Regions from separate parts of the Homo sapiens genome. Here all the other regions are linked to region 1. The links are contacts of gene promoters, found by promoter capture Hi-C in blood cells and fetal thymus (Javierre and others, 2016). All regions are on one chromosome and are shown on one strand. Each heading gives the region's core, a stretch centred on a gene start or on the middle of the fragment in contact. The rest is flanking DNA. Distances are from core to core; before and after follow the strand shown.

Region 1 (2,700 bases), core at 152-2,651:
ATGATAAGTTAAGAGATCTTATTACCTGAACACAGTGTCTTCCAGTACAAAAGTAGAAAGGACAGCTCCCAGCCAGGATCAGAAAAACTCTTGATTCAATTGGAAGTAACTGAGAGGTATATCACATGTTGTGATTCACTTAACAATAATTAGAACCAAAGCAAAATATACAGGGAGGCAGGTAGAATGTAAGTTCATTTCCTTGGCTGAGAAGCTGTTAAACATTCAAACCGAAGGATTTAAAATACTGAGAAGTCTTGCTTCTCAGGAGATGGTAGTAAAGAGGTGAACCATATTTTCCTGACCACATCATTTCCAAAAGTCACCAATTCCCTTAACATCCATTAACACTCACAGAACAAATTAACGCTCTATAGACATTATTCCATCATTAGTCACATTTTGCTTTCTCCTGCACTTGATCCAAAGGAAGTGAAGAGAAAATGGTAATCAGTTACTATAGCAAGTCTTGCGCCCCACTACTTTCCATTTCCTCTCTTTTCCATCTCCTCTGTCTTCTCTGCTCAACCTCCCTTTACTATGATGTTGCTTCCTCTTTTCCTTTCTGTCTCACACCCAGATCCCTTTACTTTCTCCATCAAGTATCCTCATTCTGCCCTCTGATCCCTTGAACTCTTCTTCCACCTACAATTTTCTTCTGTCCCCTCCTACGACATCTCAGTCCAGACCTCCTGTGGCCAGCCGTCCCCTTCTTCCTCACCTCCTGACCGCTCATTCCCCTGAATTCCCTTCCAGTTGCCTGGTTCTCACCTCTCTGTCCCTTGTGTCCTCTGTCCCTTTACTTCACATCCCTCTCATTGCCCCCATCCCTCATTTCCCCCTTCACATTTCCTTCCTCTCCTGTCTTTTAATCATTGGCACGTCCACTATCCCCTTCTCTCTACATGAGATTTCCTGAGTCTTCCCCCCAACACATTTTGTCCCTCAAAGACCCCTCCCTGTCAGTCTCCGAACCCTCTCGTTCCCCCAATACCCCTAGTCCTTGTTCCTCTGTTCCCCTTCCCGTTCCTTTGCCCCCAAGTTCCCCCTTCGCCCTTAGCCTCACGTTCCCGCTCGCCTCTCTCCCTCACGCCCTCGCCCCTCTCCCTCACGCCCTCGCCCCTCTCAGTGCCCCCGCCACCTTGCAGTCCCCGGGGTCTCCTCTCCCGGGCTCCCAAGCGCCCCCCGCCCTTTCCCCGTCCCCTAGTACCCGCCCCCCAATTCTCTACCCGGTCCCGGGCCGCGGCCCCTCCCTCACCGATGGTGGAGATGAAGGTGGTGTTGAAGGCGTCCTCTGAGAAGCGGAACAGGAGGCAGGTCTTGCCTACCCCCGAGTCGCCGATCAGCAGGAGCTTGAAGAGATAATCGTACGTCTTCGCCATCTTCTCGCTCCGGCCCTCTGACCGGGGAGCCAGAGGAGGCGGTGGAGAGAGGCGGGGAGGGGGCCGCGGGCGAGGGGGCGTGCCCGCCAATCCGCCGCTGCTCGCCCCGCCCCACGCCCCGCCCCTCCTCTCGGAGAAGGCCTGCGCGCCCCGCCCCGTGCGGCCAATCGGCGAGGGCTTCGTCATCACCGCCCGCGCCCCGGGACTTCATGGGACTTGTAGTTCCTCCGGGGAGCCTCGGGCGTGCCCCGCGAGGACTGTCCAGGCGGCTCCAGCGGATAAAAGACCTGCTATGGGCGGGGTGACAGGGTGGAGGCGTTTCCACCCGAGCTGGGAAGGGAGGCCCCGTTTCGTACTCTGCTGGTCGAGCCGCGGGAACTTAACTTTGTTATTTCTTTGTGTGCAGACGCCTTCCAAATCCAGGACCTCAGAATCAGAGCCCCGTAGTTCCCGCATCTCTTCCGCCGAGACCTGGAGCAGAGATGCTTTCTTTCCTTGGCGCTGCTGTGGCGCAGCCTACGGGTTATCTGCAGAGGGCATTATCCAGCTTCTCCCCGAGGCCATGCCCAGCACCACTATAACCCCCTCCCGCAGCCCCTCAGTCACAGAGCTGAGAAAGAATGGTTACCATGCTAACTCGAACCTCACTCGTGCCCCCTTCTTCACGCCACACAGACCAGAGCCAAATACAATGAGTATTTAGAGAATCTGCTACGCTGATCGCTCCCCTCTCCTCGCAGGAGGATGGATTTTTAAATCTGGGAAGTCTTGTGCTACAGGTCTGTGCCCCATGAAACTGCAAGCATCCTGTGAGGCGGGCCACGGGAATTTAGAGAGTAAGATTTGAATTTAGTCTTGGCTCTGCTGCAAAACCGCTGTGACAAGTCACACAGGCACTGGACATTTCAGTTTTCTCATCTGTAAAATGGATATGAAACAAGATACTTCATAGGGTTCCAGTGAAACTTAAATACTAAATGTGAAAGTTCTTTGAAACCCATAAGGCACTGTTAGCAGTGATGGTAATATTCATTACTCTTCAGTAGGCTCTCACTTAATTGATGACGAATATAGGGAGGAAACAGCATTCTGTTATACTCAAGTTAATCCTTTATTATTTATTGTCTTAGGCTAATTCTCTGTTTTGTGGATGTATTGTTCAGTCCCCTTTCATTTGCTAGTGGCAGAAACCCAACCGGATTAGCTGTTGTGAAAGGGGTGTTGACTGGTTCAGGTAATGTGGAAGCAAAAGGCTAAGAAGGTGTGGGACTAGGAGTCCACCCTGCCAGGGCTCTGTGTCTCTCATCTGTTGTTCTCC
Region 2 (2,700 bases), core at 39-2,538, 350 kb before region 1:
GTTACAAAAGAAGCCTTCAAGCTATTTTCATCAGCTTCCTAATCAAGTTAAAAAATAAACCACAAAACTGAGTATCCACTACCCTCTCTATATATATTCTATATATATATGTATATATTTGTATTAATAAATTATATATACAATTAAATCTAAATTATATATTACAAAAAAGAATAATTTTTAAAGAATGAGCTAGAGATGAAATAAACTATATTAAATGTCTTGCTATTCACAATATCTTCATACTATTATTAAACTAATTTCCTTTTTTTTTTTTTTTAAAGACAGTGTCTCCCTGTGTTGCCCAGGCTGGTCTCGAACTCCTGGGCTCAAGAGATCCTCCTGTCTCAGCCTCCCAAAGTGCTAGGATTATAGGTGTGAGCCACCATGCCTGGCCATAATTTCTCAAAGTACAATATACCATAAGGTAAAGGTTTGACATTAATGACAGTGAATATAGATTCATACTTCCTATCATCTTCATGTTAATTTTTAAACATTTTGTCCAACTTATCAGGTCTTATTAGTCTGTGTTTTTATTAGATAGCCAATAATTTTATCCTGTAATATGTTTGATGAGCACAGAGTAGGAAAATGTATCCATTTGCCCTTTTCTTGTGTTTACATCATCGTCACTATCTTGCAGAATTTAAAACCTTTTAGAACATGTGTCCATGTGGCTACACATATTATATGGGACGAATAAATCCATATAACTAAGCAGATATAGAATGCAAAATGCTCAAAGTAAACAGAATGAGGACACCACAGGTGAAACTGATTTAGGAGTCTGTGTGTAACTCATGGCACACAATCATCAAATCTACAGACCTCTGGCAGCAGGTGTTAAATATTTGACAAAGGTTTCTTTTCTCCTCCCAAATAAAAAGGTACAGTGTTCTAAACGCTCTTCCCATACTGCCAGTACATTATTTTGGAGACCACTGCACTAAAAACTAGGTCCCTAGCACATAGTAGCTTCTCAAAAAATGTTACTTATTGAGTAAAATGTGTCTTTTTTTTTTAATGTTGTTCACAATATGTTTGAGGACCATCATGTAAACCACGATCTGTCCCAAGTAAACATTTTGAAGACAAAAACTGAGGGAGAAAAGGACTACTTTTTATAATATCAAGTTTTCTTCATAAGGGTCATTACCTTCACTCTGTACCTTTCTTTAACACATTTATTCCTAGGTGTAACCAATAGTTTTGTCATTCTGTTGAATATTTTTGCTTGGTCATTTCCATTTTCAACTGATGACTACTAATAAAGAGAAAGCTATTAGTTTGTGTACATTTCTCACACATCAGCTTTCCAAAGTGTCTTACATTTAATCCTCATTGCTGTTTTCTACTAGAGTCCCCCTGGGCTTTCCAGCTATTCTATTGTATCATTTCAAAGTAGAAATAATTTTTTGTTTCCAATATTTATGCCAATTATTTGACTTTCTGTCTACTGTCTTACTGCAATGGCTAGAACTACCAAAACAATGCTTAATAATAGTGACAATCATGTAAATGATGACAGGAAGTATTAGTCTCGTTTCTGATATAATGGAAATGGCTTTGGCATTTCATCATTTAGTATATGATGTTTGCTTTCTGGTTTTTGGCAAACTAGAAGAGCTTAAGTTTCTGTTTATTTCAATGTTATTAGTTTTTTAAAACGAGAAATGGCTATTTATAAATGTATATTTTGCTTCCAATGGGACAATAATTTGAGGTTTCCTTTAATAATGAATATGTTCATAGAACTCAGGTGAAATTAACTCTACTTGGTAATTATATAATTTTTCTTTTTGATAGCTTACTGGGTTAGATTTGCTTTAAGTTATAGTTATTTCCAACTACAGTATTTTATTTAGTAAAATTGGCTTATTTTGTTTTTGGAGTTTCTGTTAGATTTCTATCTTAAGGTTTTGAAAGTTTATAACATTAATATACTTAATGTTAAATTTTAATAGTTTGAGGCTGCACTGTCCAATAGTAGCTAGCAGTCACATGGTGCTATTTAAATATTAATTAAAATAAAAAACACTTAATTCTTCACACTAGCCACATTCAATTGCTCAATTGCTACCATACTGAATAACATATATGTCATACCCAAGACAGAGAAAAATCTCTACCTCTTTCTCAGCTTTAAAATTCTAAGTTTTTTTCAATTCCTGTTGTTAGTGCTATTGAAGTTACTCAAGTCATGACTTCCACATCATGTCCTTGAAGAACTAAGAAAATATTCCCAAAGCAAACCATTCTTCACTCATCTGAAACAAGGAGGAATAATCATACAAATAAAACATTTTTTATGCAACAGTAAAGAAACAAGTCCTTTAATTTACTGGCAACAAAGCTATCTTTATACAGTAAGCCATGCATAACACTAATACCAAAAATAAATAAATAAATAAAACCTCTTATGCAACAAACACCCCTGACACATGACAGATCCTTCATTAAGTTTCACCAGCTCCTTTTCATTCACTTCTAAGACATTTTGATATTTACGGGCAAATTTGACATCTGGTTTTATTATAAATGACAGTAATACTGAAAAGAAAAAGCAAGCTGATATTCTAGTGACTTCACCTATTTCAAACTGAGAAAGGTTAAAATCTAAAAGAATTTGCTTAGGAAGCAAGAGCATTTTTAAATTCTCTTACTAAACTCTGATGTATTGCCATCAAATAAGCCAAT
Region 3 (2,700 bases), core at 145-2,644, 280 kb before region 1:
GGTCTGAATTTACAATGAGATGGCTATGGCTCTCAGTTCCTGATAAAGGCCCTAGCTCCAATAAAGTTCAAAAGAAGTGGACACTGGACACACCCTACCTTCTTCTTATCATTATTATTATTATTTTTTTGAGACGGAGTCTCGCTCTGTCACCCAGGCTGGAGTGCGGTGGCGTGATCTCGGCTCACTGCAACCTCCGCCTCCCGGGTTCAAGTGATTCTCCTGCCTCAGCCTCCCAAGTAGCTGGGACTACAGACGTGTGCCACCACGCCTGGCTAATTTTTGTATTTTTAGTAGAGACGGGGTTTTGCCATGTTGGCCAGCTGGTCTTGAACTCCTGACCTCAGGTGATCCACCCGTCTTGGCCTCCCAAAGTGCTAGGATTACAGGCATGAGCCATTGCGCCCAGCCCACTTCCCCACCTTCTAAACCAACTAGGGGCTTACCCTTGCTGACCAGTCACTTGGTCCCACGGCCTCTGCAATGCAGAGCAAACTGGAACGAGAGCACCAAAAATGTCCTGCCAGTTTGCCTCCTAGGGGTGTGAATGTACATATTGCCCTTCCAGTTCTGGCCCAACGGGCTTAATTAATTCAAGCCCTCAGCATCTTCTTTTACCTCCAGATACCTCGATAGTCTCCTGGGTCTCCCCGACTCCTATCGTGCTCATTTCTACTCATCCTCCTCACTTTTTTTTTTTTTTTTTTTGAGATGGAGTCTTGCTTTGTTGCCCAGGCTGGAGTGCAGTGGCGCGATCTCGGCTCACTGCAAGCTCCGCCTCCCGGGTTCACACCATTCTCCTGCCTCAGCCTCCTGAGTAGCTGGGACTACAGACGCCCGCCACCACGCCCGGCTAATTTTTTGTATTTTTAGTAGACACGGGGCTTCACTGTGTTAGCCAGGTTGGTCTCGATCTCCTGACCTCGTAGTCCGCCTGCCTCAGCCTCCCAAAGTGCTGGGATTACAGGTGTGAGCCACCACACCTGGCTCGTCCTCCTCACTTTCTACAACATCTAGCTCATCATGTCACTGCCCACCCCCTGCTTACAGGATGAAGTCCCAACGCCTTGGCAGGGCATTCAAGGTCCTTTGCAATTTTGCCACAACCTACATATCCATCTTTAGTGCCCATATCCAGTACCTCAGCCACACCTGCCTCCTGCCTGTTAGTGCCCTACTCACTCATACCTACTGGCCACTGACTAAAAGGCCCTTCCTCCTATTGTCTGCCTGGAGGATTGTGGCACCTCTTTCTAGAACATGCTCAAATGCAGCTTTCTGTGAAATGGGCCACCATCTCCTGGTGGCTTAGAGACAGGGCCTTGGTATGTTGCTCAGGCTGGAATACAGTGGCTATTCACAGGCATGATCATAGCTCACTGCAAGCCTAGAATTTCTAATTGCAAGTAATCCTCCTGCCTCAGCCTCCCGAGTAGCTGGATCTTCAGGTGCTAGCCAGCTGAATGCTTTCTTAAGTCTTTACTCGGCCTGCAATTAATTCCATTCCCCACCTTTTCCCACCCACAAATTCCCAGTCTCCTTCAGCATTTGGATCTACTGTCACCTTTAAATTGTTTAAAAATTATTTTTGACACAATTTCAGACTTGCAAGAAAGTTACAAGAATAGTACAAATAATTCTTGTATATCTTTCAGCCCGATACCCTAAATATTGTTTGTGACATTAACCTTAACCTTCCACCCACCCAACTACCTACCTATCTTTTTTTTTTTCTTTTTTTTGAGACAGGGTCTCACTCTGTTGTCTAGGCTGGAGTGCAGTGGCACTATCTCAGCTCACTGCAACCTCAGCATCCTGGGTTCAAGCAATTCTCCTGTCTCAGCCTCCCAAGTAGCTGGGATTACAGGCGTGTGCCACCACGCCTGGCTAATTTTTGTATTTTTAGTAGAGATGGGGTTCTGCCATGTTGGCCAGGCTGGTCTCAAACTCTTGACCTCAGGTGATCTGCCTACCTCAGCCTCCCAAATTGCTGGGATTACAGGCATGAGCCACTACGCTGCTTGCCTGCCTGCCTGCCTGCCTGGCTGGCTGGCTGGCTGGCTTGCTTGCTTCCTTCCTTCCTTCCTTCCTTCCTTCCTTCCTTCCTTCCTTTCCTTCCTTTCCTTCCTTTCCTTCTCTCTCTCTTTCTCTCTTTCTTTTTTCCTTTTTTTCTTTTTTTTGATGGAGTCTCACTCTGTCACCCAGGCTGGAGTGCAGTGGCGTGATCTTGGCTCACTGCAACCTCCGCCTCCCGGGTTCAAGCAGTTATCTGCCTCAGCCTCCCGAGTGGCTGGAATTACAGGTGCCCGCTAATTTCTTTGTATTTTTAGTAGCGACAGGGTTTCACCATCTTGGCCAGGCTGGTCTTGAACTCCTGACCTTGTGATCCACCCGCCTCGGCCTCCCAAAGTGCTGGGATTACAGGCATGAGCCACTGCGCCTGGCTGCCCCTACCTATCTTTCTATGTACTGTATCTAGAATCATAATTTTACTTTTTCTGAACTGTTTGTGAGTTACTTTACAGACATTACTCCCCTCTACTCCTTTGGTGTATATGCTTTGTAAAACCAAGGACATTCTCTTAGATAAGTATAGATAATCATCAAAATTAGGAAATTAACTTTGGTACCAACTATTTTATCTAATCCACAGATCTTATTCCGATTTCACAAATTTTTCCCAATAAAGTTTTTTTTTTT
Region 4 (2,700 bases), core at 108-2,607, 270 kb before region 1:
CATAAGACGTGGGAGTGCCATGGAGTGACCATAGAAGTATAGACAGTAAGATCACAGCCAGATACAACTTCTTGTTTTATAGATGAGAGACCTGAGGCCCAGAAAGAGGAAGGCACTTGCCCATGGTCACACAGTGAGTTAGTGAGACTGGAGCCCAGCTCTCCAGGGTTCTGTGCTGTGCTAGTCACAGGCTGTTAGGCAATTGGCTTTCCTGGGTTCTGGTCAAATTCATTTTTTGCCTACTCTGCTGCATCTACACAGTCAGATGTGATTTGGGTTAAAGTTCATTGAATCATGTCTATTTCTTGTCTGTTCAGTTTTGTGGCTTCCTGGGTCTCTTTGACTAACTTCTGTTCTTTTAAAATCCAATATGGTATCAATACATGGTGAAAATATTCTCTGAAAACAGTCTGGCACTTCCTCAAAAAGTTAAACATAGAGGTATCATATGACCCAGCAATTCTCCTCCTAAGCATATACCCAAGAGAACCGAAAACATGTTCACACAAAATATGCACTCATATATTCAGCAGCATTATCCATAATAGTCAAGAAGTGGAAACAATCTAAATGTCCATCAACTGATGAATGGATAAAGGAAATGTGCTATGTCCATACCACGAGATATTATGTGGCAATAAAAAGGAACGAAGTACTGATCCACGCTACAATACAGATGAACCTTGAAAACATTATGCTAAGCGAAAGAAGGCAGTCACTAAAGACCACATATCATATCATTCCATTTCCATAAAATGTCCAGAATAGGCAAATCCATAGAGACAAAAAGTAGATTAGTGGTTTAGGGGTTTTTAGGGGCTGGGGGTGGGGCAATGGGAAGTGACTGCTAATGGATGTGGAGTTTCCTTACTGGCTGATGAAAATTAGATAGTGGTGATCGTTGCATAACTCTGTGAAAATATATATATATATATATACCAACACTTCAAAAGGATGAATTTCGGCCGGGCGTGGTGGTTCACACCTGTAATCCCAGCATTTTGGGAGGCCAAGGCGGGTGGATCATTTGAGGTCAGGAATTCAAGACCAGCCTGGCCAATATGGTGAAACCCCGTTTCTACTAAAAATACAAAAATTAGCCAGGTGGTAGTGGCACACACCTGTAATCCCACCTACTTGGGAGGCTGAGGCAGGAGAATTGCTTGAGCCTGGGAGGCAGATGTTGCAGTGAGCTGAGATGGCGCCACTGCACTCCAGTCTGGGCCACAAGAGTGAGACCCTGTCTCAAAAAAAAAGAAAAAGAAAAGAAAAAAACAAGGATAAATTTTATGGTATCTAAATTACATTTTAAAAAAGATGGTCTCTGATTAAAACACAAGAAAAATGAAATTGGAGGAAATCCACAATGAGAAAAGTGTTACAATGTGAAGATATACACTTCAGCTAGACTTCTAAATGCCTAAAAAGAACATTTATAAGTAGGTTTTCTACTCTAAAAACTGGAGTGGAATGGTGGAATGTGTCCTGCCTTATAAAGTAGCTACTCAGATGTGAATTAGAATCCCAGTTCCTCTACTAACTGGTTGCATGACCTTGGTCAAGTTACCTACCCTTCATCAACCTCAGTTTCTTCATCCATTAAATGGGATAATAAAGTCTCTCTTACAGGTAATGGCATGTACTGTGTCAGCAGTCACCCTGAGACTGCAGTGTTGGGGGCACTTTCGCTCTCAAGCAGTGTCTGGAAACTTTTCTGAGTGCTTCTTAAACTGTAGCACGCATTGGAGTTCTTTCTTTCCCCTTAGCTTTTCTCAAACTCTGTAGGTTTAGTGACTAGTACAAGGCTTCTCAAACAAAAATGTGCACAGAATCACTTGGGAATCTTGTTAAAAATGCAGAATCTGATTCACAGGTCTGGGATGGAGTCTGAGATTCTGCATTTCTAAAAATCTCCCGGGCAATGCTGTTGTTGCTGGTCCTTGGAAACACCTGACTAGTATGGTTCTATGTCACCGGAAATGTGAAGCTAGAATGATTTATAGAACCTTCCTTGAGTAGCAAAATTAACTGGGTTTTATAACTAAAATACTTCACAAAAATATAGTCCAAAATAGTGTCAAAATTTTTTTTAAAGATTCCTTTTAGAGGCTGGGCGCAGTGGCTCACGCCTGTAATCCCAGCACTTTGGGAGGCCAAGCAGGTGGATCACCTGAGGTCAGGAGTTCAAGACCAGCCTGACCAACATGGAGAAACCCTGTCTCTACTAAAAATACAAAAACTAGCCGGGTGTGATAGTGCATGCCTGTAATCCCAGCTACTCCAGAGACTAAGGCAGGAAAATCGCTTGAACCTGGGAGGCAGAGGTTGTAGTGAGCTGAGATCGCGCCATTGCACTCCAGCCTGGGCAACAAGGGGGAGACTCTGTCTCAAAAAAAAAAAAAATTTATTTCCTTTTAGATATTCACAGAAATTTCTGCAGCCTTCTCTGAGGGTACAGAGTTAACATGAAATTCTAATTTGAACCACAAAAATTAATAGCAACATGTATACTTGTATGAAGTGTCAACATTTTCCAAGTATAACTTGCATCTAAAATCTCCTTTATTCCACTTAGAACAGGTCTGGGAGGTAGGCAGAGTATGAGTGATTATCTCCATTTTGTAGATGACAAACATTGAGGTTCAGGTAGGTTAAGTGATCTATTAAGGCCACTTAGATTGTCCCTGGCTGAGCTGGGGC
Region 5 (2,700 bases), core at 82-2,581, 330 kb before region 1:
CAAGGAACAGTTAACTGCTTAAAATGAACCCTGACCCAGGGCCTATGATCGGCTACTACTTGACTAAAAATGTCCCCAAGGCTACTTCCAGCTCTCTAATTTCAAGGTTTCCCAACAGAAAAATAATTACGATAGATAAGTATTTCACTTCAACAGCCTTGGATACATTTCTAAGACCACAGTGGAAGTGTGGAGTAGGCAGACAAATAGCTTGAAGTATTATCTTACATATTGCTGCTCACACAATTAAAAAGTTAATTTTTTTGTGTGTTCTTCCCTGAAGATACCTGATAATACAAAAATATCTTTGTACAAGGGTATTAACTGCTGCATTATTTGTAACTACAAATATTGGAAACAACCTAAATGCCCACATATAGGAGATGGGTTGAATTCACTGTCGCACATCCACAGATGGAGTACTAGAAGCTGTTTTAAAAAAGAGAATAAGGAAAATTCCTACAAACATGGAGTGACATCCAGGATATACAGCTAAATGAAAAAAAAAAAAAGTCCAAAAGAATGTATCTAGTTTGCTATCTTTTGTGAGGGAAAAAAAGAAAATACCCACCTGCTTTTCTTTACAAAAAGAAACACAGGAAAGATCAATCAGAAATTAATGAAATTGGTTGTCTACAGGGGGTGGGTAGGAGTGAGCGGCCGGCATTAGGTAGTGACATTGCTTAGCACAGCTTTTTGTGTAGTTTTAACTTTTGGAACCATGATAATGTTTTATATACTCAAAAAGCAAAATAAAATCAGTAAGGATGAGATTTTAAAAATCTTAAAATGGGGCCAGGCATGGTGGCTCATGCCTGTAATCCTAGCACTTTGGGAGGCCAAGGTGAGCAGATCACTTGAGGTCAGGAGTTCAAGACCAGCCTGCCAACATGGTGAAACCCTGTCTCTACTAAAAATACAAAAATTGGCCGGACATGGTGGCCCACGCCTGTAATCCCAGCCACTCGGGAGGCTGAGGCAGGAGAATCGATTGAACCTGGGAGGCGGAGGCTGCAGTGAGCCGAGATTGCATCATTGCACTCCGGCCTGGGGACAAGAGCAAAACTCCATCTCAAAAAAAAAAAAAAAAAAAAAAAAAAATCTAAAACAGAAATCAAACAAACAAATGAACAAACTTTATGTTAAATAAGTGTATTAAAAGGGAGACTAAAACTAAACCAAATAGCTTTTTAACATAGTACTTTTTATGTTTTCAGTATACAGACAAAAAGAACTGTAAACAAATTTGAACTTGAGTTATAAGGGGTTTTCTTTACAATGGTATGGGTTAGCAATTCTGGAACTATTTTCTCTGATTATAGAATTGTGCAAATGAGTACACACTCATTGTAGATAATGGGAACCAGTTCTTACTGTTGGAGAAAGGTGTTACAAATATGGAAAGGGGCAAGACTAGGCTTGTGGTGTTGAATGAAATTGTAGGTATCAGTATAAAATCATGGTGATAAACACACAAATACACACAGACATAAACAGATGTAGATATGCTTATTTATTTATATTTCTCAGCTCTACTGTGCTGAGAGATCTTAGTTTATAAACATTATTCCCAGCCAAAAAGAATGAGGGCTACTTGGAGAAATGGCTAATTCCAAGGCTGCAACAGGCTAAGTACAAGATGAGCCTGGAACATCTTGTGCGAGAAAGTAAAAAGGGCTCAAAGAATGACGGCGCGTGCCCAAATCACAGCTTAAGGGTGCTCCCACCAGCTAAATATAAGCTAATTTGAGCCTCAAAATAAATAATGATGAGTACCTTAGAATAAAAAAAAACCGAGTGCTTATTAAGATAAGTAAGCAAATTAATAGTAAGCAGGGGAGAAAGTTCTTTCTTATAGCAGAATGCCAACTAACATGTAAAAGAATTACGAGTCAGAAAATCATCACCTTGCAATCATCCTACTAATAACTGATTCAGGCAAGAATCATCAATGGATGTGAAACTACTGGGTAAAACTTTGGTAAGAAACGAGGTATATACATAATCTAAAAACATTTCCCACAAATTACTTCTTAATAGCAAAGGAGAAAATAGTAACTTTATAGCTGATTAACCTACCAAATATTACCTTAATAAAGTAATCAAAGTTAGTATCACCAAAAACAAGACAGACCAACTCTTGATATGATGCCTGAGAAGACACAACATTACTTTTGTGGTATTCCTACCAAAAATGCATTACCTGAATCTAACCATGAAGAAACCTCTGAAAACTCAAACTGAAGAACATTTTATAAAATAACTGAAATGAACTCTTCAAAAATAACAAGACATTATGATGTTAGAATAGAAAAAAAAAAAGCCAAAAGCCAAGACATGAAAAACAAAGGCTGAGGAACTATTGGAGATGAAAGAAAACTAAAGAGCTATGACAACTAAATATAACACATGATCCTGGATTAGATCCAGGGTGGCTGGGGAGGTAAACAGAAAGGAGTAATAGCTATGAAGGCCATTGTTGGGACAATTGAGGAAATCTGAACATGGAATGTGCATTAGGTAACAGCATTCTATCAGTATCAACTGTCCTGATTTGACCAATATTCTCTGCTGATTGAAAAGAAAGACCCGGCCAGGCGCGGTGGCTCACGCTTGTAATCCCAGCACTTTGGGATGCTGAGGCGGGCAGATCATGAGGTCAAGAGATCCAGACCATCCTGGTTAACACGGTGAAACCCC

The links. Contacts are between HindIII fragments. The CHiCAGO score rates a contact against its expected background, and 5 or more counts as called.
Region 2: a contact is called between a fragment that was not itself captured here and the fragment with the promoter of RAB8B in region 1, in 1 of 17 cell types (monocytes). The highest score is 6.1, in monocytes.
Region 3: a fragment that was not itself captured here is called in contact with the fragment with the promoter of RAB8B in region 1 in 1 of 17 cell types (naive CD4 T cells); the score reaches 5.4 in naive CD4 T cells.
Region 4: a fragment that was not itself captured here is called in contact with the fragment with the promoter of RAB8B in region 1 in 1 of 17 cell types (M2 macrophages); the score reaches 5.9 in M2 macrophages.
Region 5: a fragment that was not itself captured here is called in contact with the fragment with the promoter of RAB8B in region 1 in 1 of 17 cell types (neutrophils); the score reaches 5.1 in neutrophils.

Annotation. Positions count from the first base shown.
Region 1 is chr15:63,188,307-63,191,006 of GRCh38, reverse strand. It overlaps RAB8B (RAB8B, member RAS oncogene family), which reads right to left and starts at 1,401. Exons shown (of 8, transcript NM_016530.3): 1 at 1,259-1,401. The coding sequence starts at 1,382. LOC101928972 (a long non-coding RNA gene) reads left to right here and starts at 1,576. Exons shown (of 4, transcript XR_932355.4): 1 at 1,576-2,161. RefSeq lists a silencer at 1,317-1,646 and an enhancer at 1,827-1,976. The HindIII fragment of the contact is 3,523 bases long and covers 1-2,700 here.
Region 2 is chr15:63,541,625-63,544,324 of GRCh38, reverse strand. All of the region lies in intron 3 of USP3 (ubiquitin specific peptidase 3), which reads right to left. Among named protein-coding and RNA genes, the nearest start is that of USP3, 38 kb to the right of the region's middle. The HindIII fragment of the contact is 3,441 bases long and covers 1-2,700 here.
Region 3 is chr15:63,470,213-63,472,912 of GRCh38, reverse strand. No RefSeq gene overlaps it. Among named protein-coding and RNA genes, the nearest start is that of USP3, 33 kb to the left of the region's middle. The HindIII fragment of the contact is 8,815 bases long and covers 1-2,700 here.
Region 4 is chr15:63,453,891-63,456,590 of GRCh38, reverse strand. No RefSeq gene overlaps it. Among named protein-coding and RNA genes, the nearest start is that of USP3, 49 kb to the left of the region's middle. The HindIII fragment of the contact is 4,168 bases long and covers 1-2,700 here.
Region 5 is chr15:63,518,956-63,521,655 of GRCh38, reverse strand. All of the region lies in intron 1 of USP3 (ubiquitin specific peptidase 3), which reads right to left. Among named protein-coding and RNA genes, the nearest start is that of USP3, 16 kb to the right of the region's middle. The HindIII fragment of the contact is 5,599 bases long and covers 1-2,700 here.